7 separate regions of the Homo sapiens genome follow, and regions 1, 2, 3, 4, 5 and 6 are each linked to region 7. The links are contacts of gene promoters, found by promoter capture Hi-C in human tissues and cell types (Jung and others, 2019). All regions are on one chromosome and are shown on one strand. Each heading gives the region's core, a stretch centred on a gene start or on the middle of the fragment in contact. The rest is flanking DNA. Distances are from core to core; before and after follow the strand shown. Region 1 overlaps ADA (adenosine deaminase). Region 2 has its middle 180 kb from the start of CHD6. Region 3 has its middle 47 kb from the start of CHD6. Region 4 has its middle 97 kb from the start of CHD6. Region 5 holds the start of LOC101927182 (a long non-coding RNA gene). Region 6 overlaps PKIG (cAMP-dependent protein kinase inhibitor gamma). Region 7 holds the start of SRSF6 (serine and arginine rich splicing factor 6).

Region 1 (2,700 bases), core at 141-2,640, 1.2 Mb before region 7:
CCAATCTTGACTACGTGTTTTTTTAAAAAAAGTCCTCCACCTGGGCCTGCCACCAAGGATTTTTCTTTAATTGACCTCAGATGGGGTTGAGGCCTTGGGAACTGGCCAGAACTTCCCGTGCTCCTAACTTGCAGCCGGGGTTAAGAACTACTCCTCTGAAGCCCCCAGTGCCTGCGCTTTTAGCCCGACGGACAAGTTTCTGCCCTTCCATCCTGTGACCTCCAGCAGGGCCTGACCATGTGAGTTTTCTGTGGCTGCCGTGACAAGTTGCCACACCCTGCATGGCTTCAACCAACAGAAACGTGTGCCCTGGCAGTTCTGGGGGCCAGAAGTCCAACATCAAGATATCATCAGAGCCACATGCCCACTGAAGGCTCTCGGGGGAATCCATTCCTTGCCTCTTCTGGTTGCTGGTGGCTCTAGGCATTCCTTGGCTTGTGGCTGCATCATTCCAGTCTCTGCCTCTGAGGTCACGTTGCTGCTTCCTCTTGTGTGTGTTTCTCTTAAAACTCTCTGCTTCTGTCTTATAAGGATACATGTGATTGCATCTAGGGCCCAACCAGATAATCCAGGATAAACTCTTCCTGTCAAGACATTTAATAATCACACTTTGCCATATAAGGTAATTTTTTTTTTTTTTTTGAGGTGGAGTTTTGCACTTTCACCCAGGCTGGAGTAAAGTGATTTAATCTCGGCTCACTGGAATCTCTGCCCCCAGGTTCAAGCAATTCTCCTGCCTCAGCCTCCTGAGTAGCTGGGATTATAGGTACCTGCCACCATGCCCAGCTAACTTTTGTATTTTTAGTAGACATGGGGTTTCACCATGTTGGCCAGGCTGGTCTCGAACTCCTGACCTCAGGTGATCCACCCGCCATAAGTTAATATTTTTTTTTTGAGAGGGAGTATTGCTCTGTTGCCCAGGCTGGAGTGCTAGTGGCTCAATCTCGGCTCACTGCAACCTCCGCCTCCCAGGTTCAAATGATTCTCCTACCTCAGTCTCCTGAGTAGCTGGGACTACAGGTGCATGCCACCATGCCTGGCTGATTTTTGTATTTTTAATAGAGAGGGGATTTCACCATGTTGGCCAGGCTGGTGTTGAACTCCTAACCTCAAGTGATCCACCCACCTCAGCCTCCCAAAGTGTTGGGATTACAGGCATGAACCACCACGCCCGACCCATATAAGGTAATATTTACAGGTTCTGGGGATTAGGATTAGCATGTAGACAGCTTTGTGGGGGCCACCATTCAGCCCACTATGCTAACCCTGTGAACCGTTGCTCGCTTCTCCTTGACATCTGACGGCCTGGCCTTCTGCATACCACACACCCTCCCACCTCTCTGGCCACAGTTCTGTAGGCTCAGCCTCCTCCGTAAGGCCATTAAGTGCTTGTGCTGGTCAAAGTTTCATCCTAGGCCTTTTCCTTACCTCCCTTGATATTTTCTCCCTAGGTGAGCTCCTTCAAGCCCACAGCTTCTGTGCTTACCCACACTCCTACCTACATTCCCAGCTTGGGCTTCTCAGGCCAGCTCTAGACTCTTGTATCCCACTGGGTTCTTCCACTTACCTTTGGATATCTCAAAGGCATCTCCAGTTGGCTGGGCACGATGGTTCACACCTGTAACCCCAGCACTTTGGGAGGCCGAGGTGGGCAGATCACTTGAGGTCAGGAGTTCAAGACCAGCCTGGCCAATATGGTGAAACCCCATCTCTACTAAAAATACAAAAATTAGCTGGGCATGGTGGTGGGTGCCTGTAGTCCCAACTACTCGGGAGGCTGAGGCAGGAGAATCGCTTGAACCCGGGAGGTGGAGGTTTCCGTGAGCTGAGCTGGAGCCACTGCACTCCAGCCTGGGCAACAGAGTGAAACTCCGTCTTAAAAAAACAAAAAACAAAAGGTGTCTCTAGTGTAACATAACTAAAACCAAACCAATCATGCCTCCCTCCCCCGCATCCTCCCTCCTGGAGGGAGCTCCAGGACTTGGTCTTCTCTTCCAGAGTTCTCTGTCTCAAACTGCGGGAATTGCTCCCCACCCAGGCCTAACCTGAAGTGTGAGCCTTGGCATCTCTTTCTATCCACCTGTTTTTCCTCTATGCACCTCACAACCCTGGTCCAAGCCACCGTCATCTTTCAAATGGCTGCAGTAGCCTCTAACTGGCCTTGGAGGAGCCATCCTCTTTCTCTAACCAGCTGCCAACCCTGCAATGGCCTCTGTGTGCTTTCCAGATAAAGCCTGACTCCTCGTGGCCCGCACAGCCCTGCCTGGGTGGTCCTATCCTGCAGCCTCTCCAGTACCATGAACCCTCCCTTCTCTGAACCTCTATTTAATCCATTTCATATACCCCGTTTTCTCCTGCCATAGGGCCTTGCACATGCTGTTCCTTCTGCCTGGAATTTTCTTCCTGCCTCCCTCCGCACCCCTGCCTTGTGTTGTGGGTTCCTCGCTATCCTCTAGCTTTTCGCTCAGGCTCATTGTTGGCCCTCTAGATGTATTCACTTCTCTTGTTTGTTACCCTCTGTCATAGGACTGTGTTCGTACTTCCCAAGGAGTCGTCTTGGTTTGTGACTGTACATTTTCCCATGTGACATTTGCTTAATGCCTCTCCCACTCTGGGGCCTGTACAAGCCCCAGGAACAGGACTTGGACCCTCCTGTTTAACTCTACAATCTAGCATCCAGCAGGAGCGCAGGCCTTCGTT
Region 2 (2,700 bases), core at 96-2,595, 1.7 Mb after region 7:
CTTAAAATAAATTAGTTTTTAAAATACATCCACACAAACATATTATATTGATTCTGTTTCTCTGGAGAATCCTAATACACTGAGAGATGGCCATTAATCCTTGGCTGGATGCCCCAGGTTGGAAACACCACCTAAGATGCTCTTGCCTTTATTGAAAAATGCTTTGGTTAGAAAGTTCTTTTTCATGGCCAAAAAGGATCTGCTCCTTTAACCTCCACCCTCTACCAATCTCAGCCCTGCATCCTCCAGGTGATCACAAAAGCCCTACAAATCTCACCTTCACTGAAGCCTTCAAGAAACTGCCCCGTGGCTGCCCCAGTCCCATGGAAGAGAAGTCACTGGGAAAAAGTTGCCAAGCCTGTACCTAAATAATCTCCCTTTGGGGAAAGTTCCTTGAAAGGAAGGTAAGGTTGGGGAGAAGGAAGGAGGGAGGGAAGAAAAGAGAGATAGGAGAAAAAGAGGAAAGAAGGAAGAAAGGAAGATGGAAATGCTTCCAAATACCTGCTGTGTATTTTTCATGTAATCCACCAAACACTTTGAGTAGAGATTATTCCCCACCACAGCGAAGATTAGAAAGCAAAAGATCCACAAGGGAAGGTAAATTGGCAGTGGCCATCTTTGTGATACCTCCCTTCTCAAGAGGTCCTTCCCTCAGGCCAGGCGCGGTGGCTCAGGCCTGTAATCCCAGCACTTTGGGAGGCCAAGGCAGGTGGATCACGAGGTCAGGAGTTCAAGACCAGCCTGGCCAACATGGTGAAACCCCGTCTCTACTAAAAATACAAAAATTAGCGGGGCATGGTGGTACATGTCTATAATCCCAGCTACTCGGGAGGCTGAGGCAGGAGAATCACTTGAACCCAGGAGGCGGAGGTTGCAGTGAGCCAAGATCATGCCACTGCACTCTAGCCTGGGTGACAGTGCAAGACTCTGTCTCAAAAAAAAAAAAAAAAAAAAAAAATCCTCCCTCAAGGAAGTCACCAACAGAAGCTTCCAGTTAGCAGCCTAGAAGCTTAACTACTTAATCAGTGGGCTCAGGAAAGACCTGGGAATGGTTCTCATTGGTCTAGCTTAGGTCATATGCTCATTCCTGAACCAATCACTATGGCTAGAAGAATGAAATGTTTTGATTGGCTAGCCCAAGATCATGTGCCCTTGCCTGGTCCAGAGGGTGAGAGCCGCCTCAGTTAAATGGAAAGAGGCAGAGGGATGAGGCCCGCCCCCATTACAATGAAGGAGGTAATGAGTGCTGGAAAAGCAGAAAAAATAAACAATAACGGAATCATGGTCTGAATAAAAGGGATTTCAGCAACACAGTGAATGTCTCCATCCAGTTAAGCTCTATTTAAAAAGTTATATATATATATATATATATATATATATATATATATATACACACATATATATAAATACTCTATATTGAATTATTAAAGTATAATAGTAATTGTTAAGAATGACCCAGAAAGGGAAGGTCTTGGACAATGGTAAGTTTCAACCAGCACAAATTAGTTGTTAGCACCCACAGCTCTGATCTGAAGTGCCTAGCTAGCTCTGTTCTCTTCCCAAAGGGCATATATCCTCCTCCCCTATCCCAGAAGGAAGGTCTAGCCTTTGAGGCTCTTTCCTAGTTATCCTCCCCATGTATATAATCACCCTTTGCAAGTCATATTTTTGATTTCTCAGATGTTTCCAAGATGCTTTATTGGTTAAAGCTCATTGACATGACCTGTTCCTCCATGCTCAACACTGTCTCAGTTATGGCCTCCAGCACCCGCCTGGTTTTTCATGGAAGGTGTCAGTGTTGCACTTTTACAGCTCCAATGCACAGCCTGAAATACATTTTACAGAAACTTCAACCTCACCAAACACCAATTATTCATATCTCGTTACCATATATTTTTAAAGTAATGCACAACTTAGAACATTTAAAACCACGCAGTTCTTTGCATTATGAACACATCCTTACTAACTCACAACTATAAACAATTATACTTAATCTCAGTGTACCCTCTGGGGTTAAGTAGGAAACAACTTTATAATTCTAGATTTATTCTTAGGCTTAAAAAAAAAAACATTCTTGGCATATTTGAGCTCTGAGTTTAGTATTTCTGAACTTCAGGGCAGATTGACAACTAAAGCCCTTACAGAGACTTTTATTTAATCTTTCTTTTCACTAAAATCAGAAGCTTTGTGAATTCCTACCTAAGATGTAGACAAGAGAAGGCATTGGATACCTTCTGATTACTCTTTCTCAGCTTCCTTACCTCATATTTTCTTTGGACAAATTCAGAGAAGAGGAAACAAAGGAGAATAGACAGACTGTATTCATTCATTCATTCATTCATTCAACAGATTTTTTTTGAGTGGCCACTGTGTATGAGGCACTGCGACAGGTCCTGGGTATATGATAGTGAGCAGAAAAGATTCTATCCTTGTAAGGTTTATGGTCTAGTACAAGGATCAGCTGACTATAGCCTATAGGCCAAATCTGGCCTGCCACCAGTTTTTATATGACCCACAAGCTAAGAATGGGTTTTACACTGAAATTGTTGAAAAAAAATCAAAAGAATATTTTGTGACACGTGAAAAGTATGTAAAATTCAAATTTCAGTGTCCACAAATATAGTTTTATTAGAACACGGCCATGCCCATCAATTTACATATTGCCCATGGCTGCTTTCATACAGTAGCAGAGTTGACAGG
Region 3 (2,700 bases), core at 69-2,568, 1.8 Mb after region 7:
GTAACACAATGCCAGGGCTCAGGAGTAGGGTCTTTATCTCCACATATTAAGAATAATTAAGCTATTTGAAAATTTTATGTTAAAATTGATGTTAATATACCTGAACATTTACCTAAAATGAATGGTATCCCATAAAAATATAAGCTCCTAAAATTGATTCTAAGAAACCTATATAGGCTAGATGCAGTAGCTCATGCCTGTAATCCCAGCAATTTGGGAGGCCGAGGTGGCAGGATCTCTTGAAGCCAGGAGTTCAAGACCAGCCTGGGTAACACAAAGAGACCCTGTCTCTACAAAACATGTTTTAAAAAATCAGCCGGGCATAATGGCAAGCACCTGCAGTCCTAGGTGCTTGGGAGGCTGGGCCAGGAAGATCCCTTGAGCCCAGGAGTTTGAGGCTACAGTGAGCTATCATAGTGCCCCTGTACCCCAGCCTGAGTAACAGAGCAAGTACATACCTCTAAAAACTAAAACAAAACAAAAGGAACCTATACTAAAATCCATTGATAAAACTGAAAATGTAAATAATCTATGCCCCTAGGTAATTCTGCCCCAGATGGTTTTATGAGTAGGTTCTAGGAAATCTTATTAAAAATACCATTTGTATGTTGTTTAAACTAGATATTTAAACTAGCATCAAAAAAGATCCAATTTCATTTTATAATGCAAAAATCTAACCAAGCACTTGCTGGTATGAAAGTCTTAAATAAAATATTAGTAAGTCATACCAAGCAGTATATTAAAAGAGTTATGTACCATGACCAAGTAGTGTTTATTTCAGGAAGAATGATTGGTTCAACATTAAGAAATCTTTGTTGAACTAAGCATCCTGTAATACATCAGATAGTGAAAGGAAAAAAACCATATGATCATCTCAATATATGCCCAAATGCATTAATTAGAGTATAACCTCCATTTCAGATGATGATAATAATGACAGTGATGACAAAAATAATGATAAACACCTTACTAAGCAAAGAACAGAGGGCCCAGGGACACTTTTTAAAATCAGAAGCCACAAGCAGCAAACTTAATGGTAAAACATTAAACAAATACTGGAGGCGTTTCTATTAAATGGGATGCTCACTATTATTGCCATTAATCAAAATGTTTCTGGAGTCTCAGAACAGTGCCATTAGGTAAGAAAAAAACAAAGGAAATACATATTAAAAGAAACAGCAAATTATTTGTATTTTCAGGCTACAGTCTTTTCTTCTTAGAAAATCCATGAAACCCAACAGAAAATATTACTGAAATTAATAAGAAAGGTCAATAAATTGGTTCAATACAAGAAATATAAATCTATGACTTTCTTATATTCCAAAAATAGCCACTTAGTAAATTGTACTAAAAAGAACTTCCATTCATAATTGCAACAATAACTGTAAATAACTGTGTGTAACTATGACCAGAAATACAGAAAACTTACATGAAGAAAATTCTAAAATATTCCAAACAAGATAAAAAGTTGGAGAGGTATACCACATTACATGGTATAAATATGTTAGCTTTCCCTGAATCACTTTATGGATTTAATACAGTTGCAGTCAAACTACCCAGGGGATTATTTTTGGAACTTGAAAGACTGATTCTTAAGTTGTCTACAAGAATGCATGCGTGCAAAGCGTCACGAAATTTTTGGGTGGGATCATAGCCACACAGAATAAAGACTACATTTCCCATTCTCCTTTGCAGCTAGATGTGTTCATGTGACTAAGTTCTGACCAATGGGAGCATTTTGTTGCGCATCCAGAAATCTTTAAGAGACAATTTACATATACCCTTTCTCCTTCCTCTTTCTCTAACCTGCTACATGGAACGTGAAGTCTGAGGATGAAACTGTGCAGGCTGGACTTTCAAGATGTTCACATTCTAGTAATGGCAGAGCAGAAAGCTGGAAGGAGCCTGGGTTCCAGAGATTTTCATGAAAGAGAGAAACCACATCAGCTCCAGATTAACACGGAGCTTAACATGAGAGAGAAATGAACTACGTATCTTATTTGAGCCATTGTTATTTTGGGCTTTCTTTGCTCATAGGTGAATCTAATACTATTAAAATAACCCTTCGTATTTCCCCCCATGCTTATATAATTATTTTCAGACCTATACAAACAAACGTACACACACATAAGTTTTATACAGTTTTCTGTCATTGTTTTCTGGGAGAAAAAAAAAACCTTTCTTCATCTTGTTTTTTCTCAGTCAATACATTGTGAAATATTATCCATGTTCATTGGTATAGCTCTAATTCATGGTTTTCATTTTTTGTTTGTTTTGAGATGGAGTCTCACTCTGTCGCCTAGGCTAGAGTGCAATGGCAAGATCTCGGCTCACTGCAACCTCCACCTCCTGGGTTCAAGCAGTTCTCCTCCCTCAGCCTCCCAAGTAGCTGGGATTACAGGCACCTGCCACCACGCCCGGCTAATTTTTGTATTTTTAGTAGAGATGGAGTTTCACCATGTTGGCCAGGATGGTCTCGAACTCCGGACCTCAGGTGATCCACCCGCCTCGGCCTCCCAAATTGCTGGGATTACAGGTGTGAGCCACCACACCCAGCGTAATTCATGTTTTTTGATGGCTTCAAAAAAAGTATCAAAATGTATGCCCTTATTCTCCCATTAGTGGGCATTAGCTTTCTTTCTGGGTTTTTTTTTCCCCTTCACAATTAACAAGCAATACATCTACATCCTTGCATACTGG
Region 4 (2,700 bases), core at 143-2,642, 1.7 Mb after region 7:
GTGATGATTAATTTTATGTCTCAACTTAACTGGGCCATAGGGTGCCCAGATATTTGGTCAAACATTATTCCAGGTGTGTCTGTGAGGGTGTTTTTGAATGAGATTAACATTTAAACCAATGAGCTGAGTAAATTAGGTTGGCTCTCCCCAGTGTGAGTGGGCCTTGTCCTATCAGTTGAAGGCCTGAATAGAAAAAAAGGCTGATCCTCTCCCAAATAAGAGGGAATTATTCCTACTCAGCAGTCTTCAAACTGGACTTTGAGTTTTTCCTGCCTTTATGCTAGAGCTTAAACATCAGCTTTTTTTTGGTCTCAAGCTTGCTAGCCTTCAGACCACAACTACACCATTGGCCCTCCTGAGCCTCCAGCTTGCCAACTCACCCTGCAGATCTTGGGACACGTCAGCCTCCATAATCATGTAAGACAATTTCTTATAATGCATGTCTTTGGTTCTATTTCTGTTGGTTCTATTTCTCTGGAGAACCTGACTAATCCAGTGCTCTATGAATGTGGAATGAATGAGTAAAAGAATAAATAAACAGCGACTTACAAATCCTCTTTCAAAGACAAAGTCTATGCCAGAGAGTCTAACTCAAAAAAAGCAACATAGAGCCCGAGGGGGGCTTCCTGGAGCCACTCCCAGGGACTTGCATGTACCTGCAGGTTTCTGGGCAAAGAAAGAGTGGCGCTCCAAATGAAGGATTGGCTCTCCTGGTCATAGCCTGGGCTTGAGCTTCTTTTCATATTTACTTCTCCCTTCCCTTTTCCTCTGATCCATCAGGAATGGCTTCCCTGGGCCAACCAGCACTTCCCAACATGACTGCATGACCAGCTGGGCTAGAGTGTGGTCCTTCCTAGTGCATCCTTGTGCAAGATAATGATTGTTCACCAGCTCTGAATCAACCAGACCCAGGTCAGGGAGCCAGCTTAGCCAGGATGTCAATAAAACATAGAAAGCTGTCATGTAAAGGTTTTCCCTTTCATATTTCTGCTTTAACACTGCTCACAAGGTTTCAAAAGCACAAGTATGATCAACTTTCTTGAGCTGCCACCTCCCATGATGTTGTTTGTCACAAAGCATTCCTAAGCATCTGCATGCAGTGTCCCCATGCATTCTTCCCATGCAGGGATCCTGCAGATAGTCCCTTTTCTAACTTAATAACTACCTTTTTTAAAATGCTACATATCAGGTACTAAGCTAAGCATTTCCCATTATGATATCTCATTTGACCCTCAAGAGAACTCTAGATGTGGGATCTGCAGCACAGTTCTCTGGGTGGCCTTAGACCAAGACAGTTCTCCCCCCATTTCTTATCTGTAGTTCTCAAGAATAACTGCAGGACATGCTGGAAATAAAACATCCTGAGATAAGAGGGGAGCTGGTCAGGACAGTCCAGGCTCTGTTCCAATCCCTCCCTAGAAATGAGATGTCCTTCCAGGCTTAGCCCAGAGGGTCTTGTAACCCCGAGGTATAAAACTCAGTGTGGGCTGCTTTCTGAGGTCCCTCAGCTGCTATGAAAGTGGAGCACATGCAGTTGAGACTCCATCCACCCAGGCAGCTTTCCTGAACCTTGGAGGACTGGGTGGCAATGAATCCTCGGTTTCTGTTGTCCCTTGCTGCCTGCCTATCTGTAAGTAATAAGCTTGTTTACTTAACTTGTTGTGAGCATGGGTGTTCTGTCTCACCAAACTCAGACCAGTGGGTAACCAGCGCACAGGAAACCTTCTTTACAGAGTCTATTAATAAAGAAGGGGAAACCAAGGATCAAAGATGTCATTTGTGGCTGGGAGCGGTGGCTCACGCCTGTAATCCCAGCACTTTGGGAGGCCGAGGCAGACGGATCACAAGGTCAGGAGATTGAGACCATCCTGGCTAACACGGTGAAACCCCGTCTCTACTAAAAATACAAAAAAAAAAAAAATTAGCCAGGCGTGGTGGCGGGTGCCTGTAGTCCCAGCTACTCAGAAGGCTGAGGCAGGAGAATGGCTTGAACCCAGGAGGTAGAGCTTGCAGTGAGCCGAGATGGTGCCACTGCACTCCAGCCTGGGAGACAGAGCGAGACTCCATCTCAAAAAAAAAAAAAGATGTCATTTGCTAAAGACCAGAGAGCTAGTGAACAGCAAAACCTGCACTGCTAACTACTATATATGTCCTACGGTGGCCCTGTTGCAGAGAAGAAAAGAATCATCTGAATCAGAGGACAATATTTTAATCCAAAGGCTACGTGGCTACAGGTTGAAAGCAGAAATCAGAGCTATCCACAGGTGCAGGAGCCAGTGGGCCATCATCCATCAGCAGTGGGAGATGGCATTGGCAACCAGGGCTGAGGTTTGCTGGGAGCCAAGCTCTGGGCTTCAGCAGCCACATCTCATTTTCCTGAGGTCATAGCAGAAGCTCTGCTCCTCTGCCTCTCAAGTCATCAATTCTGACCCTGGCATCCAGCTACAAAAGTGATTTTACAGCATCTTGGGGATTTTGTGTAAAACCAAATTTAGGCATCAGGACAGTTAAAGGACACCCCACCCTCTTGCTATGACCTGGAAGGAATTTGCTTTACCTCTTTTCTATGAGATTGCAGATCCATTCCAAAGCTCTAAAGTCTAGCAGGCAAATGGGAGGCATGTGTGGCATTGGTGAGTCTGGGCTCTGCCCTAAAGAGCCAAACATTTTAAGAGAAAATGTTGAGAAAGGACCTCAGTA
Region 5 (2,700 bases), core at 162-2,661, 1.6 Mb after region 7:
TCAGATACCACTGTTTTCCTACAGAGGCAGAGCAACTTGAGACTGTAACAGCCAGGGTCCTTGCATGAAGCATAGACAAACTCATACTGGGATCACATGAACAGGACTTAATAAAAGAACCATTTGCAAAGGTGGGGGCAGGTTATAGGGAAGCTTTCAGGGACAGTGCAGTACCCCGGGATTAGTAACAATGTGGTCGTTATCTTTTCTAGGCTCAAAATGACGAGGAGAGAGAACAGATACCAGAACTGGAAGGAGAGAATTTCATAAAAGGAGCCACCTTGAGGGGAACATTTACCTGCCACTGAAAGGCACAGCCAGCCTGAGGCAATTCCTTCAGAGGAATAGATACCCTGAGCATACCCTCCTCCCTCCAAACCTCTGATCTCCTGCCAAGGGTCCCTGTTGACTGGACCCACCTAGCTGAAGCTAAAGGGCACAGGAACCTGCTCATGCAATCGATCAGAGTCAGCCTCCTGGGAAGAGAGCAGAGCACAGCAGAGAGACAGCAAAGAATAGCTCTGGGTGGTGAAGAGGCACTTGAAAGGCACTTGACACAACCACCTAAGACAAAAAGAGCTGCAGGTGATCCTCACTTGCCCACGGGGATATTCACCTAACCTGGCTTCTAGCATCCCAGTCCTATCCCAGACAACTCCAGGTTAGAACTCCGCCAAGACAAAAGAACTTACTTACAAGGCGTTGGGGTTCTCTGCCTTTGCTTCCTTTATCTGTCCCGGGACTGCTTTGCAAGAGCACCTACTTCTGCATCGTGGTCTCCATTACTTCCTTCAGCCTTTCCCACCATTCACAGTTCCATTCCTTCTTCTATAGCATGAAGACGCCTGCACACACAGCTGAAACATTTTCAGTTGAGGACAAATCTAAAAGTTTTGTTTCTGCCAAAAAGCCAGGGGATATAAAACCACAGTGAGACATGGAGGCAGCCAAGAGACATAAACCTCAGATCACAGGGCACTCAGATCCAAGCAACAAAGCGGAGCAACAAGCCATGTGAGCCATTTGTCATTCTGCAGGCAATTGTCTGTTGGCATTTTTCTGAGAATATGAGAGGAAAACAAGATTCCCTTGAAAACATAGTTCAGAAAAAGTCCGTACTTGACAATATGAAGACCGTAAGCAATTGCAGATGGAGAGACTGAGAATTCTTTGAAACTACAGAAGTATAAAAGGCTTTGATACAGAGAAACAACCCGTATAACATAGACCATCATGAGATGCAGAAGCAGATTGGGGAAAAACACTGACCTACGATTCATCTATTCAACTTTCTACAAATATTTATTGAGCCTTGTGGGCACTGGACTAGGATTACAAAAGAAGGCCAAAAGAGCTAAAACAGAATGCTTTCCCTTAGCTATGTCTGATTAAGTCTTTTTTATCTTTTCCCTAGGGAAAAAGGGTTGGAAAAACAATAATAGCTACCATTTTCTGGGCATTTACAATGTATCTGATATTGTCCTAAGCATTTCCCATTTACATCTCTCTACAGCTCTGATAGGCAAGTACTATTCTTACCCCCATTTTACATATAGGGCATGGAAGGCAAGTAACCAGCAATGAGTCACATCAAAGGAGATGGTGCACAGGAATAATAACAGAACTAGGACCATAAGGTGTAGTATTTCACTGGATGTATAATGCTTTACACAATAAGAGGTGTGTATGGGAGAGGATGGGGACATAACAGAGGGAAGGAGAAATGCATGCTACCTAGCTACCTACAGATGCTTTATCAAAGGGTTCAACTAAACTTTCAGTCTAATTGATTCCCCCTTCCATGGTTATTTTCTTCATTAACTGGTCTTCTGTGCACTGACAATGTTTTGTCAGAGAATATTGATGCTTGGACATTTAAATCAATTAATGCATCCATTTCAATTGCTCATCTGTCAAGAACACCAAGTTTTCTTTCTAAATTAAGGATAGAAGGACAGTGAGGGCAGGAAGAAGCGTGTATTTGGAGAAGTATTTATAGTTATATAAAAAGGAGAAGTGTTTATACTTTGTCAAGATAAAAAGACTGATTATCATTTTTTACCTAAACAGACAATCAGGGGAGTTCAGTAGAGACTCTGGATGCAGGCTGGCTGGGTCTACCTCCCAGCTCCAGCTCTTTCTAGCTATGTGGCTTTGAGAAGAGTCCTTAACCTTTCTGAACCTCATAGAGTGATAATAACATGTGTTAAGAGCTCAGCTGTTTGGTATTCAACCACCATTGCCAATTCTCTAAGACACGTTGACCAAACCCATGGCACTAGAATGTTCAGGGCTAATAAGCTACTCTCTGACACACCCATTCGCTGCAGCTTCTAAAAGCTGAGTTGTTTAATCTTGCATTGGTTCCAAGCGTGCTAACGCTATTTATACTTGTTACTATAATCACAGATTTAATTAAATATTATATATAAGAATCTATGCATCTATGAAAACTGTGTTTGAATACTGTGCACAGGCAAATAACTTTTTAAAAAATTCTACAGAATTCGGAGTTTGGGGAAAACAAAATTCTAGAAGGATTCCTGCCCTCAGATTTCTTCACAGGTTGAATTCTTGCCCACTTCAAAGCAAGTTAAGTTAGGGATCATCGTTGATATGTAAACTTCAGCAGAAAGGAAACCTGGGTACTCAAGGAAAATACCTGGACCCCCCACATCAAAAGACTCATGAATGCATGTA
Region 6 (2,700 bases), core at 179-2,678, 1.2 Mb before region 7:
ATACAACATATATGTATCAAAACATCAAGTTGCACCCCACAAATATATACAATGACATGTCAGTAAAAAAAAAATAATAAAGAAATGTGCCAGATGGGCCTGTACTGACATAGGACAATGTCTGAGATAAACTGGCAACTGAAAAACAGAGGTTGCAAAACAACACCTAAAATAAAACCCAGTTCCTGTGGGGAAAGATAGCAGACATATGAAAAAAAAATCTGAAAAAACATCTATCAACCCTGTCAACTGTGGTTCTTTGTGATTAAGGGGAACTTTCGTTTTCTAAGTCTATATTTTTTCAATGGTTGAAGTTTTATAAACCCAAATTATTGTGCAATGCTTTTAGAAGGTAGCTGACATTGGCAGAAGTGCCCAGAAGGCACCCAGGGTGGGGTTGAGCCAGTAAGTGCTGCAGGTGTGTGTGTGTGTGTGTGTGTGTGTGTGAGAGAGAGAGAGAGAAGAGAGAGAGAGAGAGAGAGAGAAAGAGAGAGACAGAGAAGAGGATCAGTATGGAGGGCAAGGCCCACATCCCCCCACAACACCTAGCTCAGAAGAAACACCTAAAGAATGAATTAGGGGCCCTCAAAGATCAGACAGGTGAGACAGGGAGGTGTCCTATGGTAGAAAGAGCAAAGAATGAGACACGTGACCTTAAACCCAAGCTCTGCCACCTAACCCTGGGCAAGACCCTGCCTTTCTTGGGGCCTTCATTTCCCCTGTGTAAAATAGAGGAGGGCCAGGACACTGTCCACGGCAATTCCCCCCGGCTACAGCAGATGGCGCACCCTGCCTATCTTCCTAGCAGCCTTGCGCGCTGCCCTAGTCACGCTCTGGCTCCTCCTTGGCTAAAAGAATTCCCGGAAGTTCCAGAGGTGGCTCCTTCTACAGGTCACGGAGGTTCACTCCTGCGCTCTGCCTCTGGGGAAACCGCTCAATGCTTCAGGACAGGAAAATGGCTTATGATAATAACAGTAATAACAGAGGATAAAAATGATGCTGACAATTCCTACGATAAGGAAAGGTACCATGGCCCAGGTGCCTGTGTTTTCATACACATCACGCACTCAGTGGCCACAGCTGCCCTCTGAGGTGAGTGAGGCCGGTTTACAGCCACGGCTCAGAAGGGCCTCAGCCCCACCTGAAACCCGCTGCTCTGGAAAATGACAAACCCCGAGCAGGCCACACTGGCTCCCGGAGCCTCCGAGTCCTCGGCTCTTCCTCAGTTAGACTGTCAGCTCCACGGGAACAGGAATTTGGTCTGGATTTTTCCCATGTCCAGCTGAAACCTAATCCTGGCAGCTGAGCCAACAGGTTCTGGCCGCTGCATTCCCTGATTCTCATCCAGCACCTGGTAAAGAGCAGGCGCTCCATGCACACTCGCTGGATTTCACTCTCGGGCCTCTGAAGGAGAGGGAGTTTGTGTCTATCCCTCTTCTCCCCTGCTGCCCGCCTGTCCTCTGTGGGGAGGAGCCGCAGTTCCTTCTTGGGGCTGTTGAGAAGGGCCTCCGTGCACCGTGGAGTGCTGTGCAGGTGTTCTTGTCCTAGGACCTGACACCATGGGATGGAATTACAGGCTCTATCTGAAAGGCCAGCTTCATGCTGGAATGTCTCCTGGGGCTTTGATCTCACAATGCCATCTGATGTTACAGGCTGCCCAGTGCAGGCCACTGGCCCTCGGGACACAGAGACAGCAAATGCCACACTCAAAGACCAATCCTAGAAAACATCAGCTGGGCCAACATGCTCTGGCTACCATATCCCCTCAGGGAACAGCAATTCCAAAGACGGCTCTGGGGAGCTCTCCAATCGAAAGCAGAAACACATCGTTTTATTTTTCTCCCATATTTATATTCGTCACTCACCCTCTCATCTTTAGAGTCAACAGCAAATGGGGAAATAAAGAATCCTCAGAGTTGGAAATCCTGTCAGAAAATGGTCATTCTCAAACCCTGTTAATGAGACTGTAAACTTCCAAGACCTCCTTGGGCAGTGACTTGACAGTGTGTATCCAGAAACCTCAACTTTTTCCATATCTTTTAGCTACTAAATCAGTTTATAATAATCTATTCTAAGAAAATAATCCAAGATCTACATGAAGATAAAATGTACAAAGATGTTCCTCATAGTATTTTTTTTTTTTTTTTTGAGACAGGGTCTCGCTGTGTCACACAGGCTGGAGTGCAGTGGTACAATCATGGCTCACTGTAGCCTCAACTTCCTGGGCTCAAGCAATCCTGTTGCCTCAGCCTCCTGAGTAGCTGGGACTATTCCATGTCTGGCTCATTTTTTTTCAGGGATGGGAATCTCATTATGTTAACCAAGGTGGTCTCAAACTCGTGGTCTCAAACTCCTGGGCTCAAGTGATCCTCCTGCCTCGGACTTCCAAAGTGTTGGGATTACAGGCCTAAGCCACTGCGCCTGGCCCACAGTATTATTTATAATAGCAGGAAACTAAAGACACCAAAATGAGTTCCTAAATGGATGTGTCACATGTCCTAAACGGACAATGGAGAATTATTAATATATACATACTTAACTAATTTGTATCTAAATGAAATACCATTCAGGCATTAAAATGATGTTTGTGAATATTTTTTAAAGAAATGGCAAAATGTTCACATATAGTTAAATGAAAAAGAATACCAGTGATATAATTACATACATTAATATTTTTATAAGTAATTTTAAAATCTGTTA
Region 7 (2,700 bases), core at 197-2,696:
TTGTCTAACCCTTGGAATCCTCACCATCACCCTGCGTCTAATGGCAAAAGGCTGCTGTCGTCATGGCTTCCGGTAAGGTCAGCCAAAGGGTCATAGGGCAAGGGTCACACAATGTATGGAAAAGCCAAGGCCAATCAGGAAAGGCAGTCATCTTAGCCTCAGTGGACACAGCCTCAGCCCCATTGGTCACTTTCAAATTGAAACATCAAGGACTTGTTAAAAAGTTTGAATTCAACATGCAACAATTTAAACATCAAACATTTAACATAACCAAAAATCCCCCCAACCTCCTCCCAATAACATGCCCCAATTAGTTCAAATACAGCATAAAGCTTATTTAGATCTACTTTGTGGTACAATACCACATTACTTAAAAATAGTACATTCTTTGGCCCCCATCAAGTTCCATAGCTTTAAGACCTATACTTTATGCTCCTCCCCTTCCCCGTCCCCCGCGCCCCCTACCCCACCTCCACCCGAGCCTGCCCCCGAACCTCTAACTAATGCACTGATAGGTAAGTAAGGAGAATACAACAAATACAGCCACCCCTTACTTCCTCTGTGGGAAGAACCCGTGACAGTGCTGACAAGGGGCCAGAAGAAGCCACCCACCTCCCAACTTGGCAAATAAACAAAACCAAACACCCAAACCCAATCCCCGCGCTCCGGCGTCCCATGGCTGCCCCGGGCAGACGTGAAGGCAGCGGGGCTCGGGGACACCCAAGTCAAACGACCCCCGGCCCTCGCGCCTGCCCGGGCTGGGAGGCCCCACCCCACCCACCCCCGCCCCCAGGGTCCCCAAGGGCGCGGAGCGCGCGGGGGTGGGACTCACTGCGGCTTCCGTAGCTGTAGCCGTCGCGATCGCGACGCGGGCCCCGGGCGTGCTCTACGATCACGCGCTCGCCGCAGAGCTCCTTGCCGTTCAGCTCGTAAACGGCGTCGTCGGCGTCGCGGGAGTCCTCGAACTCCACGAAGCCGTACCTAGGGGCGGTGCGAGGGCCGGACAACCGCGGGGGAGTCGTTAGCCAGGACGCGCACGTGCGCGCGCCCGTACCCCACCGCGCGCCCCCGCGACGCCGCGCCGTCGCCATCTTTGAGGCCCTGCCACGCGGCGCCGCGGCCTTGGCCGCTTCTTTCCTTGGAGAGTTCCCGCCGCCACCAGGCCTGGGACGCTGGGCGCGGGCGCCCAGGCCCGACTCACCCATTTTTGAGGTCTACTTCGAGGAGGCGGCCATAGCCACTGAAAAAGCGCTGGATGTCCTTCTCCCGGACGTTGTAGCTCAGGCGTCCTATGTAGACGCGCGGCATGTCCGTGGCGGGCGGGGACCCAAGGGCTGGTTGTCGAACGGCGGACCGCAAGCCAGTAACCGCGGTGCGGGTGCGGGGACGGCAAGAGCCCGAACACGCGCCTCACACCACAGGGGCGGCCGAGTCCAGCCACACAATGGCGCGCGCGCGCGCCAGGCTTTCGCTATATGGGCGGCCGGTGGGGCGGGGCCTGGAGCGTGATGTCAGCGCGCAGCGGCACGTCCGTCCCGCGTCGTCCCTGGGCTAGATGGTGACTGGCGAGTCCGTTGCCCGCGACGTTTCGGTGTAGTGCGGTCTTGCTAGCTTCTAGGATTTTTCTCTAGCCCTCCCCACCGTCTTTGAAAACACAATGTCTCTAATCCAGCCGCAGAACTGCTTTCTAATTTGTACCTTTTATAAAACTGTGCGCGATCTCTTCGGGGTTGAAGCTCGGGAGGCGGGCTGAGCGAATCCCCGTTTTTCATTGGTTCTCGAGGTTATCATAATAGGTCGCCGCGGTCTCTGCTTGGTGGCTTAAAACGAGGCTGCGGATTTCTCCCAGCGATTGGTTGATGCTCGTTTTGATGGGGACCGCGGTCTCGGACCCAGTCGCTTGTCTTGTTTCGCAGAATCTGAGGATCGCGCGCCGAGGTCTTGCTGACCGGGCGGAGGTCGCGTTGCGAGCGCGCAGACCCGCCGACATCAGCCTCTCCGGGTCTCACTCGCAGCCTTCGCCTCCCCGGACGTTCCCCTCTCCCTCCATGGGTCTTTCTTGGAGCCCTGGCAGCTTGACTCACTTGTGGATTGGGCTATCCGTGGCAATCCTACGCTCACTGTAGGTGCTCAAAAGGGAGCGTGGACGAGACCCGGCAGCCCTCCCACAGCGACGAACGATTTTTTTTCTCCCGTGTATGGAAAGTCCTTTGTCCCAATACTATCATTTCCTCCACTGACTTGAAAGTGCCTTATTTTGTGAGTTTATCAATGGAGATGCTATTTAAAGCTGTAGAACCAGATTGAAAACCTCAAAGGAGTAAGTTTAAGTGGAGAGCGGAAGACCCAGGCCAACGCCTGGGGTACTCTGAAATTTAAGCGCAGGAAAGGAGACTGGGAGGAGTGACTAGCGAGGTAGGGAGAAGACCAGGAGAGTAGGTGTCACCGCCGAAGCTAAAAAAAAAAAAAAAAAAAAAAAGGGATATCACTGAGATAACACCAGCTCTTTAGATATTTATGTATTCCTGCTCTGTTTTGAGTGGTGCAACCTCAATATCCTTAAGCTTCGGGTTGAAAAAGGGGGGTTTTGTCCTCCTGGAGCTATTTGGAAGTCTAGAGGGAAACGTTGTTTGTCACGACTGGGGGAGGTAGAGGCCGTGCTTAAAGTTAGATAAATAAAAAATACGAGTCTGTAATCCC

The links. Contacts are between HindIII fragments. The study calls those that stand out against the background at their distance.
Region 1: a contact is called between a fragment that was not itself captured here and the fragment with the promoter of SRSF6 in region 7, in 1 of the 25 tissues and cell types used here (lymphoblastoid cells).
Region 2: a fragment that was not itself captured here is called in contact with the fragment with the promoter of SRSF6 in region 7 in 1 of the 25 tissues and cell types used here (dorsolateral prefrontal cortex).
Region 3: a fragment that was not itself captured here is called in contact with the fragment with the promoter of SRSF6 in region 7 in 1 of the 25 tissues and cell types used here (dorsolateral prefrontal cortex).
Region 4: a contact is called between a fragment that was not itself captured here and the fragment with the promoter of SRSF6 in region 7, in 1 of the 25 tissues and cell types used here (dorsolateral prefrontal cortex).
Region 5: a contact is called between a fragment that was not itself captured here and the fragment with the promoter of SRSF6 in region 7, in 1 of the 25 tissues and cell types used here (dorsolateral prefrontal cortex).
Region 6: a fragment that was not itself captured here is called in contact with the fragment with the promoter of SRSF6 in region 7 in 1 of the 25 tissues and cell types used here (aorta).

What each region holds. Positions count from the first base shown.
Region 1 is chr20:44,638,609-44,641,308 of GRCh38, reverse strand. The region is part of intron 1 of ADA (adenosine deaminase); the gene reads left to right. Among named protein-coding and RNA genes, the nearest start is that of ADA, 12 kb to the left of the region's middle. RefSeq lists an enhancer at 1-2,700. The HindIII fragment of the contact is 5,650 bases long and covers 1-2,700 here.
Region 2 is chr20:41,792,207-41,794,906 of GRCh38, reverse strand. No RefSeq gene overlaps it. Among named protein-coding and RNA genes, the nearest start is that of CHD6, 180 kb to the right of the region's middle. The HindIII fragment of the contact is 4,306 bases long and covers 1-2,700 here.
Region 3 is chr20:41,663,809-41,666,508 of GRCh38, reverse strand. No RefSeq gene overlaps it. Among named protein-coding and RNA genes, the nearest start is that of CHD6, 47 kb to the right of the region's middle. The HindIII fragment of the contact is 4,219 bases long and covers 1-2,700 here.
Region 4 is chr20:41,714,384-41,717,083 of GRCh38, reverse strand. No RefSeq gene overlaps it. Among named protein-coding and RNA genes, the nearest start is that of CHD6, 97 kb to the right of the region's middle. The HindIII fragment of the contact is 3,700 bases long and covers 1-2,700 here.
Region 5 is chr20:41,902,092-41,904,791 of GRCh38, reverse strand. It overlaps LOC101927182 (a long non-coding RNA gene), which reads right to left and starts at 944. Exons shown (of 6, transcript XR_001754611.2): 1 at 693-944. The HindIII fragment of the contact is 3,027 bases long and covers 1-2,700 here.
Region 6 is chr20:44,608,248-44,610,947 of GRCh38, reverse strand. All of the region lies in intron 2 of PKIG (cAMP-dependent protein kinase inhibitor gamma), which reads right to left. Among named protein-coding and RNA genes, the nearest start is that of PKIG, 27 kb to the right of the region's middle. RefSeq lists enhancers at 254-313, 344-443, 494-563, 1,321-1,895. The HindIII fragment of the contact is 7,160 bases long and covers 1-2,700 here.
Region 7 is chr20:43,456,642-43,459,341 of GRCh38, reverse strand. SRSF6 (serine and arginine rich splicing factor 6) reads right to left here and starts at 1,446. Exons shown (of 6, transcript NM_006275.6): 1 at 1,202-1,446; 2 at 833-981. The coding sequence starts at 1,308. RefSeq lists silencers at 660-919, 930-1,029 and enhancers at 1,170-1,269, 701-1,648, 1,570-1,729, 1,790-2,109. The HindIII fragment of the contact is 8,319 bases long and covers 1-2,700 here.